Regions from separate parts of the Homo sapiens genome. Here region 1 is linked to region 2. The links are contacts of gene promoters, found by promoter capture Hi-C in human tissues and cell types (Jung and others, 2019). All regions are on one chromosome and are shown on one strand. The core of a region is centred on a gene start or on the middle of the fragment in contact, and the rest is flanking DNA. Distances in the headings are between cores, read along the strand shown.

The links. The method cuts DNA at HindIII sites, captures the fragments that hold promoters and counts their contacts. A contact is called where the count stands out against the background at its distance.
Region 1: a contact is called between a fragment that was not itself captured here and the fragment with the promoter of IRF7 in region 2, in 1 of the 25 tissues and cell types used here (lymphoblastoid cells).

Annotation. Positions count from the first base shown.
Region 1 is chr11:250,388-254,695 of GRCh38, reverse strand. PSMD13 (proteasome 26S subunit, non-ATPase 13) reads right to left here. Exons shown (of 13, transcript NM_002817.4): 10 at 3,831-3,893; 11 at 3,070-3,150; 12 at 2,760-2,876; 13 at 1,712-2,191. The coding sequence ends at 2,096. It also overlaps the pseudogene COX8BP. Among named protein-coding and RNA genes, the nearest start is that of PSMD13, 16 kb to the right of the region's middle. The HindIII fragment of the contact is 4,358 bases long and covers 1-3,897 here.
Region 2 is chr11:614,674-617,199 of GRCh38, reverse strand. It overlaps IRF7 (interferon regulatory factor 7), which reads left to right and starts at 1,250. Exons shown (of 11, transcript NM_001572.5): 1 at 1,250-1,287; 2 at 1,553-1,855; 3 at 1,941-2,103; 4 at 2,193-2,403. The coding sequence starts at 1,836. CDHR5 (cadherin related family member 5) reads left to right here. Exons shown (of 15, transcript NM_021924.5): 15 at 1-617. RefSeq lists an enhancer at 1,794-2,388. The HindIII fragment of the contact is 18,510 bases long and covers 1-2,526 here.

The DNA.
Region 1 (4,308 bases), core at 469-2,968, 360 kb after region 2:
GTGTTCTGTCATATGTCATGTTTTTATGTTTCTCAAATAAATCCCCTTTAAAAATGTAAATAGATGGCCAGGCGTGGTGGCTCATGCCTGTAACCCCAGCACTTTGGGAGGCTGAGGCGGGCGGATCACCTGAGGTCAGGAGTTTGAGACCAGCCTGACCAACATGGAGAAACCCCATCTCTACTAAAAATACAAAATTAGCCAGGTGTGGTGGCAGGCGCCTGTAATCCCAGCTACTCAGAGGGCTGAGGCAGAATTGTTTGAACCCAGGAGGTAGAGGTTGCAGTGAGCGGAGATGGTGCCATTGCACTCCAGCCTGGGCAACAAGAGTGAAACTCCGTCTCAAAAATAAAAAAATGAAAAAAAAGTAAATAAATATCTTTTAAATAATTTTAAAATTATTTTTTCCAGAAATATATTTTCAGAATTTTGATTTTTCGGGATTTCAGCATGCAGAATTGTGTCTCTCTGGGCTGTGATCAGCTCATGTCTGGGATGAGGCAGGAGCCTTGGTGGGGTGCAGGGAGAGCAGATGAGGGTAGGAGCAGGACCAGCAAGGCAGGCAGTGGTCAGAGCACTCAGGCCTTGGGGGTGAGTGAAGCCTGTTGGAGGATGCTGAGCAGCGGCAGCAACAAGACCTGATTGTTCTGGAAGACTGTCTGGGCTGCTGTGTGGAGGAGCGGTTATGGAGGACAGGTTTGAGGCTGGACTTAGGGAGGGTGGGGAGTCAGCGGGCTCGATGTACACATGAGTGTCTGAGGGAAATGGAGGCTCACACTAAGACATTTGGCCTGAGCAGCTGAGAGGGGCTGCGGAAGGTTGAAGGGTGCACCACAGGGCCTTGGGAACTTGACAGTGAGGTGGGTATAAAGGCTAGTGGTCAATAGATCCCAGCAATTGTGACTGACGAGGAACAGCTGGGGTGTCAGGCCATCTGGACCAGGGCCAAACGAGGTCTGGAGAGGGTGGGTGGAAAGACCGAGAGGGGTCTGGGGCCATGAGGTCAGGCGAGGCCTGGACGAGGTGGAAAAAACCAGGAGCTCAGACACCAGCAACCAAAGAGGAAAAGGCTGGAGAAGATGCCGGACAACTGTTCTTTGCCAGCCTAGCAGACTTGTGGGTGCTTTCCTCCAACAGGAGCAGGCCGTGGGGCTCTCACATTCATCAGCTTCCTGGTTCCTGGAGGCTGGGTCTCACCCGACCTGGAGAGCTGCAAGAGCTCCATGCTGTCACTGCAGGCCCAGGACTGAAAGATCACATTAAACTGTCCTTCCACCTAATGTTCACTCTGTGATTCTTTGTGTACGTGCACCTCCACTCCCAGACGGGGAACCTCAAGGTGGTTTCCTTTACATGCCCAGTCCCAGGGATGGCTCATGTCCGCACTGGGGCACACCAGGTCACAGATGCTGGTGGCTATTTGAATGATGAGTGGTGACAAGGATGTGGATGGATGCCTGTGTCGGGGCAGGTACCTGAGAGGGCTGGAGAAGGGAGTGGATACCCCTAGGTCTCTCTTGACTAACAATAAAGATAGGACCAGCGTCTTCGTTAGTCCTTGGTGCTGGATTCTGCCCGTCTACTGTATGTGCAGGGAGGAGAAGGGCCAAGGCTACCCCCACCGTGTCTTCCCAAGGTTCCAACTCATGCTTTTTAACCTCCAGGCACAGGCTTGGCCTGGAAGCTAAGCCCAAGAAAACAGAGCCACAAGAAGAACAAAGCAGAGGGGTTTATTATAGGAACATTCTCAAACCGCAACGGAAAAGATGTCCGTACAGGTGGATGGGGATGGAGATCCACCTCGGAGTACACAGACTTCAGGGGGCCTCCTGCCTGGCACGTTCTTTCTCTCCCGTATCACCTAAGACCCTGAGACCCCCACCCTCTGCAGGAGAGACCCACAAAGAAGCCTCCTCCCTGTGGCCTGGCTCCCATCAGGGACAGTCCTGTTTTTAGAGCAAGAACAGTCTGTACTTCAGACAGGATCCCAACCCCCACCCAAATTCAATGTCGACCGTCTGAGCAGCCAGCTTCATTGGCTGCAAACGCCTCTCTCAGGTGAGTCAAAGGAGACACGACGGGGAACCAGGGGGCCCTAGGTGAGGATGTCATGGGCCTGGTGCTCCACCAGCATCTCCATGCTCTTCACATCCGTGCACCAGAACTCCAGGCGGTCCTTCATTCCCTTGATCTGAAATGGAAATCCGGACACAAGGGACGTTAAGACACGCAGGAGACACAGGCCGAGCGGCCGGCACAGCACCTGATGGGGTGACTCTACATCTCCAGCTAACTCTCTAGGGCAGCTCTAGTAAAAAGGACCTCTGAGCTGGGGGAGTGGGACGGGACTTGCCGGGTTAATTCTTTTCACAGGAACGTTAGAAAAAACTTGCATGAAAGAAAGCAGACAAGGACAGAGGAAATCCACAGGATCGCATTTCCAGCAAATGTAAGAGCGACGTGAGCTCAAATCACAGAACCAGGAACGTATCTGATCAGAGCTCCTATCTTAAGATTAAAAGGCACCGTCAGCACAACCAGTGCCATTGTCATCATAAGCTTTTAAATGCAGGGTTCAAACCCTAGGCTTGCATTAAATTAGGCTCTTAGAAAAACCCAACAGCAGTATTTCCTTCTCCAAAACCTCTTGTCTAATAATGCTGTCTTCCCAAATGGCTTCCATCCAAATGAAACTAAGACGGTATAGACACAACCCCTCAAAATCCACAGAGGTGAATAATGGGTTTCAAACACATCACCTGTTGCAAATCCAACACTCGGGGCTGCACCCAGGTCATGTGGACTCGTTTGTCCACCTCGTCTATACTGCCTTTCACCAGCCCCACCGAAAGGGCCTTCATCACCAGAAGCTCCACCTGTGCAGAGAGGGAGGCGTGTGTAAGACAAGATAGCCTGACACACCCCCATGGACCCAGATGGCTTGTGAGAAGCAGATGCCGCTCCTCCCGTCATTTTTTACTGTCTAGGGAGCACAGCGCTCACACAAGAGCCTTGACTCCTCCATGTGGCAGCTTTGCTGCTCTAACACCCTGAGCCTAGGGACCGTACCTCATTCACTGTGATTTTAGCACTTTTGGCAATTTCTTCAAAAGTGAGTTGTCTGTGATTGGCAGGTCGTGTGAAAGTCATCTGGAAAAAATTTTATTAACTATTTTAAACTATTTTTCCAAATAAAAATAGAGAACTGATAAGGATGTTTTGTCAATATTGGCTCTGAAAATAGAGATCTTATTAGTACCCCACATACTAAAAAGTTTCCTAATATTAGACATATATCTTGTTAAGAACAAGCTTTTAATGCTTAGATAAGAAGGATAACAGCAAAATGCCTTACAGGAGTTTCTGACAGTAGCCATTGTTCAATCCCCGAACAAGTACTTGAGGCCACAATTTGCCAGGGTTGACCAGGGGTGACCACGGCAAACCAGAAATCTAAGGGCCACTTCCTGACGAAGCTTAAGTTCTAGTGGGGAAAGACAGATGTGCGTGTACACAAGAAGCGACATGCAATGAGGCAACAACTGCATCACGGGGAGAGGGGCAGCTACTTCATCTCAGTTCAGATGGTCAGGGAAGGCCTCAGGGTGGTGGCAGTGGGGTGGGAGGGTGTCGTCTGAGCTAAGAGCCAAATATAAACTTAGAAGAGCAAGTGGTAGCAAAGGAAAAGGAAGGTGGTGAAGAGAGCGGCGCACAGCAGAAGCAGCACCACTGAAAGCTCACACTGCTCAGCACAGGCTTGGAGAGTGCAGCGCCCCCACCTGACCAAAATCTGAAACCACAGACAAAGTGGCTCCTGGGTGTTCGCTTACCTCCATGAGGCACAACAACTGAATTTTCCTCAGAAGCTGGGCTTCATTAGCTGCTAAATCAGGCTGTAAAGTATAGAAAGACAGAAAAATGTCTTCCATGTTTGTGCTTATCAGTTACTTAACTGGGGATCTGGAATTCGTTCTATAACAGTAGACCCAACAAAAACCAGCTAAGCAGATCCAAACATTTCACATTGCAGACTGCTGAAGCTCATTAACAACAAGTGATCTGAGCTTCATTCTTCTTAGGAAATGGAAAGAGTCGCACCTAACTGGGACACTTTGTCAAGGCAAGGAATTTACAAGGTAAGATTTGTATTAATGCTACAGACACCATTAGGCAGGGCCACAGGGTACGGGCATTTCGAGAAGACTCTCCTGGTCAAGGTGCTGTTGGGAAGGATACACCCTACTGCCCAGGGGGGTTCTTTCAAGGGCTGCTGCCGGCTCAGTGAGCCAGTGCAAGTGGAGCCCCTCT
Region 2 (2,526 bases), core at 1-2,500:
CCCCTGTCGTCATTAGCGCTTGAGCCCAGGTGTGCAGATGAGGCGGTGGGTCTGGCCACGCTGTCCCCACCCCAAGGCTGCAGCACTTCCCGTAAACCACCTGCAGTGCCCGCCGCCTTCCCGAGGCTCTGTGCCAGCTAGTCTGGGAAGTTCCTCTCCCGCTCTAACCACAGCCCGAGGGGGGCTCCCCTCCCCCGACCTGCACCGGAGATCTCAGGCACCCGGCTCATCTCAGACCTCCCGCTCCCGACCCTACACAGAGATTGCCTGGGGAGGCTGAGGAGCCGATGCAAACCCCCAAGGCGACGCACTTGGGAGCCGGTGGTCTCAAACACCTGCCGGGGGTCCTAGTCCCCTTCTGAAATCTACATGCTTGGGTTGGAGCGCAGCAGTAAACACCCTGCCCAGTGACCTGGACTGAGGCGCGCTGGGGGTGGGTGCGCCGTGTGGCCTGAGCAGGAGCCAGACCAGGAGGCCTAGGGGTGAGAGACACATTCCCCTCGCTGCTCCCAAAGCCAGAGCCCAGGCTGGGCGCCCATGCCCAGAACCATCAAGGGATCCCTTGCGGCTTGTCAGCACTTTCCCTAATGGAAATACACCATTAATTCCTTTCCAAATGTTTTAATTGTGAGAGTATCTGATATTCTTGACTGAACAATGTAAAAAACCCAAAGGGGGCTGCGCACGGCGGCTCTCGCCTAAATCCCAGCACTTTGGGAGGCCGAGGTGGGCAGATCACCTGAGGTCGGGAGTTCGACACCAGCCTGACCAACATAGAGAAACCCCGTCTCTACTAAAAATACAAAATTAGCCGGGCGTGGTGGTTCATGCCTGTAATCCCAGCTACTCGGGAGGCTTAGGTAGGAGAATCACTTGAACCCGGGAGGCGGAGGTTGTGGTGGGCCAAGATTGTGCCACCGCACTCCAGCCTGGGTAACAAAAGCGAAACTCCATCTCAAAAAAAGAAACGCAAACGGTGCAGCTGCCCCTTTTTCGAGGCACGTCCACCTCCCATTACCCACTTCCTTTTTTTTTTGAGACTGAGTCTTGCTCTGTCCCCTGGGCTGTAGTGGAGTGGCTCCATCTCGGCTCACTGCAGCCACTCCCAACGCCCTCCACTCCTCCCTACTCCGCGCTGGCCGGGGCGGGGTTCCGCTGGTCGCATCCAATAATAAGAACAGGCGGCGCGCGCCCTTCCCGGAAACTCCCGCCTGGCCACCATAAAAGCGCCGGCCCTCCGCTTCCCCGCGAGACGAAACTTCCCGTCCCGGCGGCTCTGGCACCCAGGTACTGGGGACCCCAGACCCACGCGGTGCAGGCCGGGAGCGAGAGCCTCCGTGGGGGCTCCGTGACCCCGGAGGGGTAGAGCCAAGAGCTGGGGGAGCCTGAGAGATGAGGGTCGGGCGGGGAGGGAGGCGGAGGCGGAGGCGGGGTTCCGCGGAGCTGAGAACCGGACGGGGTGGGATCGAGGAGGGTGCGAAGCGCCACTGTTTAGGTTTCGCTTTCCCGGGAGCCTGACCCGCCCCTGACGTCGCCTTTCCCGTCTCCGCAGGGTCCGGCCTGCGCCTTCCCGCCAGGCCTGGACACTGGTTCAACACCTGTGACTTCATGTGTGCGCGCCGGCCACACCTGCAGTCACACCTGTAGCCCCCTCTGCCAAGAGATCCATACCGAGGCAGCGTCGGTGGCTACAAGCCCTCAGTCCACACCTGTGGACACCTGTGACACCTGGCCACACGACCTGTGGCCGCGGCCTGGCGTCTGCTGCGACAGGAGCCCTTACCTCCCCTGTTATAACACCTGACCGCCACCTAACTGCCCCTGCAGAAGGAGCAATGGCCTTGGCTCCTGAGAGGTAAGAGCCCGGCCCACCCTCTCCAGATGCCAGTCCCCGAGCGCCCTGCAGCCGGCCCTGACTCTCCGCGGCCGGGCACCCGCAGGGCAGCCCCACGCGTGCTGTTCGGAGAGTGGCTCCTTGGAGAGATCAGCAGCGGCTGCTATGAGGGGCTGCAGTGGCTGGACGAGGCCCGCACCTGTTTCCGCGTGCCCTGGAAGCACTTCGCGCGCAAGGACCTGAGCGAGGCCGACGCGCGCATCTTCAAGGTGGGGACCCCAGCCCCGCCCCGCCCCGGGTGGGAGAGCCCGCCTAGGACCCCGCGGGCCCGGCACACGTGTTCTGTCCCCCTCTTCAGGCCTGGGCTGTGGCCCGCGGCAGGTGGCCGCCTAGCAGCAGGGGAGGTGGCCCGCCCCCCGAGGCTGAGACTGCGGAGCGCGCCGGCTGGAAAACCAACTTCCGCTGCGCACTGCGCAGCACGCGTCGCTTCGTGATGCTGCGGGATAACTCGGGGGACCCGGCCGACCCGCACAAGGTGTACGCGCTCAGCCGGGAGCTGTGCTGGCGAGGTGAGCGACGCCGGCTGCCAAGGGCGTTGGCATTCGTCCTGCTTGGGCAAAGGGGAACATTCTCTGGGTCAGATTTGTGGTTTTAGAAGCTGTTCTGGGAGAGGCTGCCAGCAGGCCCAGGAC